3 separate regions of the Homo sapiens genome follow, and all the other regions are linked to region 2. Evidence: promoter capture Hi-C in 16 types of primary human blood cells and fetal thymus (Javierre and others, 2016). All regions are on one chromosome and are shown on one strand. The core of a region is centred on a gene start or on the middle of the fragment in contact, and the rest is flanking DNA. Distances in the headings are between cores, read along the strand shown. Region 1 overlaps FCRL1 (Fc receptor like 1). Region 2 holds the start of FCRL5 (Fc receptor like 5). Region 3 has its middle 23 kb from the start of CD5L.

Evidence for each region. The method cuts DNA at HindIII sites, captures the fragments that hold promoters and counts their contacts. A CHiCAGO score of 5 or more calls a contact.
Region 1: a contact is called between a fragment that was not itself captured here and the fragment with the promoter of FCRL5 in region 2, in 1 of 17 cell types (total B cells). The highest score is 5.7, in total B cells.
Region 3: a contact is called between a fragment that was not itself captured here and the fragment with the promoter of FCRL5 in region 2, in 3 of 17 cell types (naive B cells, total B cells and M0 macrophages). The highest score is 6.8, in naive B cells.

What each region holds. Positions count from the first base shown.
Region 1 is chr1:157,812,486-157,815,773 of GRCh38, reverse strand. All of the region lies in intron 1 of FCRL1 (Fc receptor like 1), which reads left to right. Among named protein-coding and RNA genes, the nearest start is that of FCRL1, 6.0 kb to the left of the region's middle. The HindIII fragment of the contact is 5,444 bases long and covers 1-3,288 here.
Region 2 is chr1:157,550,681-157,553,870 of GRCh38, reverse strand. FCRL5 (Fc receptor like 5) reads left to right here and starts at 1,356. Exons shown (of 17, transcript NM_031281.3): 1 at 1,356-1,539. The coding sequence starts at 1,509. The HindIII fragment of the contact is 25,493 bases long and covers 1-3,190 here.
Region 3 is chr1:157,862,870-157,866,127 of GRCh38, reverse strand. No RefSeq gene overlaps it. Among named protein-coding and RNA genes, the nearest start is that of CD5L, 23 kb to the right of the region's middle. The HindIII fragment of the contact is 2,596 bases long and covers 481-3,076 here.

The DNA of each region.
Region 1 (3,288 bases), core at 11-2,510, 260 kb before region 2:
GTTGTGATGCTCCCTTTTTATCTCTGATTTTATTATTTGAATTTTCTCTCCTTTTTCTTATTTAGTCTAGCTAGTTTGTCAATTTTGTTTATCTTTTTAAAAGACTGACTCATTTCATTGATCTTTTGTATTGTTTTTCTAGTCTCTATTTCATTTATTTCTGCCACAGTCTTTATTGTTTCCTTCCTTCTACTAACTTTGGGTGGAGTTTGTTCTTGTTTTTCTAGTTCCTTGAGGTGAAACGTTAGGTTACCTATTTTAGATCTTTCTTCTATTTTTGATGTAGGCATTCACTGCTATAAACTTCCCTTTCAGAATTGCTTTTGCTATATTTCACAGATTTTTGTATGTTGTGGTTCCATTTTTATTTGCCTCAATAAATTTTAAAATTTCTCTTTGAATTATTTTTCATTGACTCATTGGTTCTTTGGGAGCATGATGTTCAATTTTCATGTATTTGTGAAGTTTCTGAAGTACCTTGTGTTATTGATTTCAAGTTTTATACCATTGTGGTCAGAAGAGACTTCATATAATTTCAATCTTTTTAAATTTGTTAAGACATTTTGCTTCCTCAAATATGATCTATCCTTGAGAATGTTCCATGTGCAGTTGAGAAAAATGTGAATTCTGCAGATATTGGGTGAAATGTTCTATAAATGTCCATTAGGATTATTTTGTCTAGCGTGTAGTTTAAATCTGATATTTCTTTGTTGATTTTCCATCTGGATGATTTTCCATTGCTGAAAGTGGAGTATTAAAGTCCCCTACTATTATTATATTGCAGTCTATATCTCCTTTTAGATCTAATAATATTTGCTTTATATATTTGGGTGCTCTAGTGTTGGATGTATATATGTTTAAAATTGTTATATCTTCTTGATGAATTCACCCCCTTATCATTATACAATGGCCTTCTTTGTGTCTTTTTATAGTTTTTGACTTAAATTCTATTATATCAGATATAAGCATAACTATTCCTGTTCTCCATTTTCATGGTATTTCTTTTTCATCCTTTTACTTTCTGTTTATGTATGTCCTTACAGGTAGAGTTTCTTGTAGGCAGAATATAGTTGGGTCCTGTTTTTTAAAATCCATTCAGCCACTCTATATTTTTTAATTGAATAATTTAATCTATTTACATTCAAGGTTACTATGGATAGGTACGGACTTAACTCCTGCCATTTTGTTGAGTGTTTTCTAATTGTTTTGTAGATCTTTCATTCCTTTGTTTCTCTCCTGTTGTTTATCTTTGTGTTTTGGTGGATTTTTTGTAGTGCTAGGCTTTGATTCCTTTCTCTCTCCCATTTACGTATCTGCTGTCAGTTTTTTCTTTGTGGTTACCATGAGGCTTATATAAAAAATCTTATAGTTATAATAGAGTACTTTAAGCTGATAACAGCTTAACTTTGGTCTAGACATTTACCATTGCCGCCATTATTTATATTTTTGTTGCCTTATGTTACATATTTTGTATTGTGTATTTCTTAACAACTTATCACAGCTATAGTTATTATTGACCATTTTGACTTTTAACCATCATAGTAGATATTTGAAAGATTTACAAATCACCGTTACAGTAATGAGATTTTCTGAATTTAATGATCAATTTACCTCTATTAGTTAATTGTACACTTTCACATGTTTTCGTGGAGTAATTATTGTCCTTTCACTTCTGGCTGGAACACTCTCTTATGCAGTTACTTTAAGGCTTGTCTAGTGGTCTTGAATTCCATCAGCTTTTGCTTGTGTGGGTGAGAGTTTATCTCTCCTTCATTTCTGAAAGACAGCTTTTCTGTGTATAGTATTCTTGCTGAAAGTTTTCTTCTTTCAGCACTTTGAATATATCATCTTATTCTTTCCTGGCCTGCATGATTTCTGGTGATAGATCTGATGATACTCTTATAGAAATTCTCTTATGTATGACTTGATGTTTTTGCTGTGTTTAGAATTCTCTTTGTATTTGACCTTTAACAATTTGATTATAATGACCTTGGAGAGGACCTCTTCAGGTTAAATCTATTTGGGGATTTTTGAGCTTCATGGATTTGGTTGTTCATATCCATCCCAAGACTTGAGTCGTTTTCAGCTACTATTTTATCAAATATGCTTTCCAAAACCTTCTCTATATCTTTTTCTGCTAGTACTCTAATAATACAAATATTTGCCCACTTAATGGTGTCCCATAAGTCCTGTAGGCTTTCTTCACTTTCGAAAAAAAATTTTCCTCAGCTAACTGGGTTATTTCAAAAGATCTATATTCAAGTTTAGAAATTCTTCTTCTTTATCTGGTTTGCTGTTGAAACTCTCAATTGTAATTTTTATTTCATGCATTTAATTCTTTAGCTCTATGAATTCTGTTTGGATTATTTTCATGATATCTATATGTTTTCAAATTTCCTGTTTAGGTCATAAATTGTTTTCCAGATTTTATTGAACTTTTCATCTGTATTCTCTTATAAGTGAGTTTCCTTAAGATTATAATTTTGAATTTTTTAGGCAATTAATAAATCTCCAGTTAGTTATTGGAAAATTATTTTGTTCTTGTATTGGTGTCATGTTTTCTCGCTTTTTCATGTTTGTTGTGTTCCTGCTTTACCATTTGTGCATCTGGTGGAAGAGTCACCTTTTTCAATTTTATAGAGTGGCTTTTGTAAGAAAAGACTTTCACCTGCAGATTGATCCTAGGGTGCCGATGGATCCTTAGTTTAGGAAGTTTCATTGGTTTGGTTCCAGGTGAGCATAGTAGTGTGGTCTCTGTGTAACTTCTTCAGCAGCAATCAATGTCAGCAATGCTTGTGTGTGCCTCAGTGGCCTAGGCTGTAGGAGTTTGTGAGGGTGGTGGTGGCAAGATAGATTGCTACAGTTCTCAGTGGCAAGAGCTTTAGGGATCTTCCTGTTCTTTTCCTCATAGACCATCATACCTGAGAGGGTGTCTTTTGGTGTTTGGCCCTGGCATGGGTCACAGGCAGGCATGGTAGTACTATGTTCCAGGGCACAGATGCTTGAGGTGGTTGTGGTCCTGCACTCAGTGTCCTGCACACAGTGCCACTACTATGGCATCTGTGCCTGGATGCAGGTTCATTGTCTTAGGTATAGATGGACACAGCTCTTCCACCAAGACAAAGAATGTGACTCTGAAGCACTCCCCAGTATCTCAGGCCCAACAGGCAAGGTTGTACCTGTGACTTTGATCCTGGGGGTCAAGATACAGCACTATCATGGCTCTAAGGATAAAGGGCTTTCCAAAGGCTCAGATACTGGGAAGCAGATCACAACTACAAATCAAAT
Region 2 (3,190 bases), core at 107-2,606:
AAAAGGTTTATATTCAGGGTTTAAAATAACTACAAAACAGGAAAAGAAAGACTGAAAGTTAAGAGAAAAATGAGGAAATATTTGAACAGAGATTGCACATAAAAAGGATATCTACATCACCAATTAGACTATGAAAAAATGCTCATTCTCAAATTCACCAGAGACATACAAATTAAAACCACATTGAGATAATTCTAGCAGAACGGCCAGATTTTACTAGATGACAATACCAATATCAGCAAGAATTTTAGAACAATGATAACTCTCATACATTGGTTGGTGGGTGTGGTGGGAATTGGCACAACCACTTTGGAAAATAATTTGGTAATACTTCCTAAACTGAATATATGCATACCTTATGAGCCAGGACTTCCACTCCCAGATATATACCCAACAGAATTATGTGCGCATATGCCCCAATAAATGTATACAAGAATGTTCATAGCAGCACTATTTGTTTTAGCACCAAAAGTAGGTAAAGATTCTGTGTTCCCTTTGAAGTTCTCCTCTTAATCTCTATTCACCCCTGTAACCCCTGTATGGTTTTCTTGCCTCAGGGTGCAGTGGGTCAGATGTGACATAATATACCTAAGGTGATGTGCATTTGTAGATATAAAATTAAATGCCCCCTTAGGAAGACCAAGGTATGGGCCCAGAGAGAAAGGGTGAGAAAATATTTGAAAGAAAGAAACTGGCACTCCTCGTGGCAGCTAATGTCTTAGGAACCTCTGTTGACCAGTATACCAGGATGGAAACTTGACTTTTAGAAAATCATAAGAGCTATACATTCACCTGGTAATTTTTTAAAAAATCAAACGGTACAGAAATACATAAAATAAATTGTGTTCTTCCCACCTATTGCTCCTCAAACATAATCAATATTTTTGTGTGTACTTTCCAGGAAAAGAAGAAAGTATACTTAAAAGAGTTGATGTACACATATATCCTATTTTTTATATTTACCCAATGGGATAATACTACAAAACCAATCTATATCTCACTTTTATTCTCTTCACATCAAACAAGGTGGTCTTCCCTTCTTGGCATGTTCAGATTTACCTTATTCTTTAATGATTGCTTGTCACCATACGGATGAATCAGAATATTCTTAAACAGTCCCCATATCATGGTTTTTTGTTTTGTTTCCAGTGTTTAGGCAATAATGAATGCTACAATAAACGTTCTTATAGTACTCTCTTCAGATACTTCCTTCAGGGTAATTTCCCAATAGCAAAAATGTAGGGTCAAGGGTATTTGATTTTTTAAAACCTTAACTTTTTTTTTTCTTTGATCATCGGGTAGGAAACTGTGATTAGCAGCTGAAGACGGGTACTCCCACTTCCTTTTTTCAATTCACTAATGCATTCTGCTCTTTTTGAGAGCACAGCTTCTCAGATGTGCTCCTTGGAGCTGGTGTGCAGTGTCCTGACTGTAAGATCAAGTCCAAACCTGTTTTGGAATTGAGGAAACTTCTCTTTTGATCTCAGCCCTTGGTGGTCCAGGTCTTCATGCTGCTGTGGGTGATATTACTGGTCCTGGGTGAGTAAAAGGGCTCACCATGGGCCCTGGGTGGGATCGGGACAGCTTCTCTCTCCACCGCAGGCCTGGTCCTTTCTTGGGGCTCAGCCCCTGCTGAGAGACTCTCTCCTACATTAGGAGACTGTATTTTTGAACTTTACTCTGTAGCTCAGGGCTTTCTCTTGAGGCTGAAGAAAATGGCCACAGCTGGAAGGAATTTTCAATCTTACAGAGTAGGAAACCACAATAACCACAACAATTAAAATTTCATTTATTTTTTTCTTTAAAAAGTACTTCTTAAAGTCCAGAGAATGTTTCATGTTTGTTTGTTCATATTGTCTTACTCATAGAAGAGCCCACTCTCCTCTCTGCAGAGGAGATGTATTTATTCCTTGTATGACAAGGCCAGATCCTGGTCCCCAGCATAAGAGGCAAGGTTTCTAACGGGAAAGACAGGTCTTTCTCTTGTACATAATTGCAAACCACTGCAGCAATTGGCTGATTAAGAACATGGGGTGGAGGAGGTCGCAGAGGCGTAGGTGGACAAAGCAAGGATAAATCTAAAGCATATGACTTTCTCTTTGTCCCTGTGGGTGTACGTAAGTCTCTATCAACTCATATGTGCGAACTGGTTGATTTTTACTAAAGGTTAAATATTATAATTAAATATGTTTATTTATTTGTTCAGCAAATGTGTTTAGTAATATCTATGCACAGGTGCTGAGCAATTAGAGTCCATAGGAGACACTACGTCTATGTTCTGGAAAGTCATGACATAGAAGGGCTCCCAGCAAGGCCAATGTACTTTCAAGCAGCTATGCAACAAGCTCCCAGTTAAATAATTGTCCAGGCAAAGTTACCAATGAATGCTGTAGGCAGATAATAAACTGTATTCAAAATAGCTAGTAAAGACTTCATGAAACTTAGAGGTGAGTAGGAGCTAGAGGAGCAGAAATGGAGCAGGCGTGATATAAGAAAAGAGGACCTCACAGTTGGAAGGTGCATGGACTATAATTCCTGAAGTAGGAATACATCTCAGTGTGGCCCCACACAATGTGGGTAATGGCCAGGTCCTGAGCATGAGAGGGCAAAGTTTATAACATGGGCTCTGGGGTCAAACAGGATCTAGGTTCAAACTTCATCTTGCCACCTACTGGCTACCAGATTCCTGGTCTACAAAATGCAGTTAATCCTAGTGCTTACCTCACAGGATTATTGACATGGTTATATGAAATAACCTACGTAAATGCAGACCATATAGAAACCACTCACAAAAATATTAGCTTCATTTAAAACAATGCAAAGATGAAGGAAGCCAAAATATTCAGGTGAATGGTGAATAATTTGTTGTTCTCAGTAAAACACTTAAGTTTGGATAAGTCTCCAATAGCCTCATGTGGACAGGGATGATTTGTCTCTCACACACTCCTGGATTTCTATTGCCTTGCTCTGGAGTATGATTGGCATTCCAAAAATCTGTTGAATAAATAAATCAACCCATATGCAGAATACCTACTCAATTGATAAACCTGCCAGTTTTGTGTCCTCTCTCTCTTCATTACCCATTTCTCAAATCTCTATCCTTCTATTCCTATATTATTAACCTAGTTCTTTAATTAATTCATTATACAACACAAATATATTTAGTGAACATTAAAGGAATATCTTTTAT
Region 3 (3,258 bases), core at 529-3,028, 310 kb before region 2:
TTCTGTTCTCAGCTGGACTCACTCATGGGTCTGTGGTCAGCTGTAGGACAGTTAGGTACCTCTGCTGGGGGTGACAGGGACAGGTGGTGGGCAACATGTCTCTCATCATTCAGTAGCTAGCTTGGGCTTGTTCACCTCACAGCAGAGCTTCCCAGAGCAGCAAGAAGGCAAGCCCTAAATGGGAAAATGCTTTTCACAGCTCTGTTTGCAACATGTCCGCTACCATCCTATTGGCCAAAGCAAGTTATTAAGGCAGCCCAGATTCTAGGAGTGAAGAAAAATTCCATCTTTTGAAGGGAGAAGCTGCAAAGATGTTGCACATCATGAAGGAATAGATTTGTTTTTATTTCTGCAATCTATCATGAGTGGCAATTAAAGCTGATGAAAAATTATCTACCACAGTATCTATCTTCTATCTATCTATCTATCTATGTATCATCTACCTACCTACCTACCTATCTATCATCTGTTTGTCAAGCTTAGGGTCAATGCTAGTTTTATATCACATTGTGGAGGAGAACATTAGGGAGAACCAAAATGTTCAATGAGTATTTATTTTGGCATTTGTTGTGGGTGGAGGTGGTGTAATACTCTCCTATATTTTCCTTATAATTAATAAAATATATACTGCTCTCATAAAATTTTAGTTGTGATTTTTATTCTGTGCAGTATTGAGGTTTTGGCACACCTAGAAAAATAAGTACCAGACCAAATGTGCAAGAAAATACATCATAGACCATTTGTGTCGGAAATGCTAAGAGATTGGAAAACTGCCTTTTGCCATATAAGCCTCTAGATTTTTAAGAGGACAAGAATTTTCTAAGAATAGATTGGTAGTAAGGAATTACTTTTAAGAGAGTTTTGTATATGTTATGTCATCTTCCACCCTCTTCTCTCAAACAAAATGATGGAGGTTACAGAAAATCTCTTACAAAGCTGACCGCATTCTTTTTGGAGTTGGGAAGGCCCTGGTACTGGTATCTGACTTACATTTGAAAGGGTCTAAATGTGAGTAACTGGATGAACCCCCCTGTAATAACAGAATGCAAAGATGAAACTGCATCAGGAATAACCTGCTCACTCAGAGTTTGGCAGGAAAGGCGCGTGTTTCCTATGGTTCACTGTGAACCAGACTGGATCATCTTGAAAGTGACCTTGTCCACAAGGATGCAGGATGAGGTGACTTCAGCAGAGGGCATGTTGAGGGGAAGTCCGCTGGCAGTCAAGGGATAAGGGGAATGTTCTAAGTAAGCTGGCTATAGCAGGCTTCATCAATGTCAGGGAATCGCAAGTGAAAGATCCCGGTGGGGAAATCTCTGAAGAAGCCACAAAAATGCTGCCCAAAAGAAAGAAGCAGCAGGTGGACACTGGCCACACAGAGTGTGGCTGTGGACAATGAAGACCTTTCCTATTTCATCTAGGTTATGGAATTTGTTGACATAAAGTTGTTCACAATGATTCCTTATTATCCTTTTTACATCCATAGCTCTGGGCATTCTTACATTAGTATGATAGTGCATTAGTAATTTGTGAATATTTTCTTTTTTGATTTTGCTGGAGATTTATTAATTTTAGTTATCTTTACAAACAATTTTAGATTTACTATTATTTTCTATTGTTGTTTTGCTCTATTTAATTGATACCAACTCTTATCTTTATTGTTACCGTTCTTCTATTATTTTGGGTTTACTTGAATTTTTACTACATTAAGGTAGAATTTTAGATAATAAATTCTAGCAATCTTTTCTGTTTATACATATTTAAAACTGTGAAATTTCCTTTTAGTACCATTTTAGTGGCTTTCCACAAGTTTTTGACACGTGTTTTTAATTTCTAATTCACCTTGGGTTTTTTTCTTTGATCCATGCATTATTAAGAACTGTGGGCCTGGTGAGGTGGCTTACGCCAGTATTCCCAGCACTTTGGGAGGCTGAGGTGGGCGGATCACCTGAGGTCAGGAGTTGAAGACCAGCCTGGCCAACATGGTGAAACCCCATCTCTACTAAAAATACAAAAAATTGGCCGGGTGCAGTGGCTCACACCTGTAATCCCAGCACATTGGGAGGCCGAGGCTGGTGGATCACGAGGTCAGGAGATGGAGACCATCCTGGCTAACATGGTGAAACCCTGTCTCTACTAAAAATACAAAAAAATTAGCCGGGTGTGGTGGTGGGCCCCTGTACTCCCAGCTACTCGGGAGGCTGAGGCAGGAGAATGGCGTGAACCCGGGAGGCGGAGCTTGCAGTGAGCAGAGATCATGCCACTGCACTCCAGACTGGGAGAGAGAGCAAGACTCCGTCTCAAAAACAAACAAACAAACAAACAAACAAAAAACAAAAAATTAGCCGGGCGTGGTTGTGGGCGCCTGTAGTCCCAGCTACTTGGGAGGCTGAGGCAGGAGAATGGCGTGAACCCGGAAGGCGGAGCTTGTAGTGAGCCGAGATCGCGCCACTGCACTCCAGCCTGGGCGACAGAGCGAGACTCTGTCTAAATAAATACATAAATACAAAATTAGCCAGGTGTTGTGGCAGGCACCTGTAATCCCAGCTACTTGGTAGCCTGAGAGGCAGGGAGAATTGCTTGAACCTGGGAGGCGGAGGTTTCCTACAAATCTCCTTTGCAGGAAATTTGGTTAAAATCCTTTGATACTTAATTAACGGACCATAAAATGAATGTGTCTTGAATATATTCTGTATCCACTTGAAATATACATTCTACATTTGCTGAATGTAGTGTTATATAAATATTAAGTAAAGTTAATTGATAGTACTGTTCATTTTCTACATCCTTAGTGATTTTTTGTCTTCCTTTTTTACATGGACTAATTAGTTCTGTGAAGGTAAAATGAAGAAGAATGAAACAACAGAGAGAACAACATGTATTTAGATCATAAAGAGGAATAAAGTGTGTAAATAGACTTCTGTCTCATCACTCCGCTGGAAATGCCAGTTAGCTGAATCCCAGCAGTGGGCACAGGTTAACTTCTTAGCCAAGAAACTCTTAAAACTCTATACAAAATCAGCATCTGAAGGGATGTCCCACCAGCTCTTCAGTTTCAGTGTACCTAAGCAAAGCTTGGCATAAATTTCTACCCTTTATCTGGTCTATCTACTCTATTAAAGTCCCTGTCTGATTACAGTGGGAACTTTCTCCAGTGCCGTATCTCATCACATTCTCCATATAATTGCTACATCTTAGCATAGTCGAAGGCACCTAACAGGTGCTGAATTAATGCTGAATGAATTCATGAAACACTGC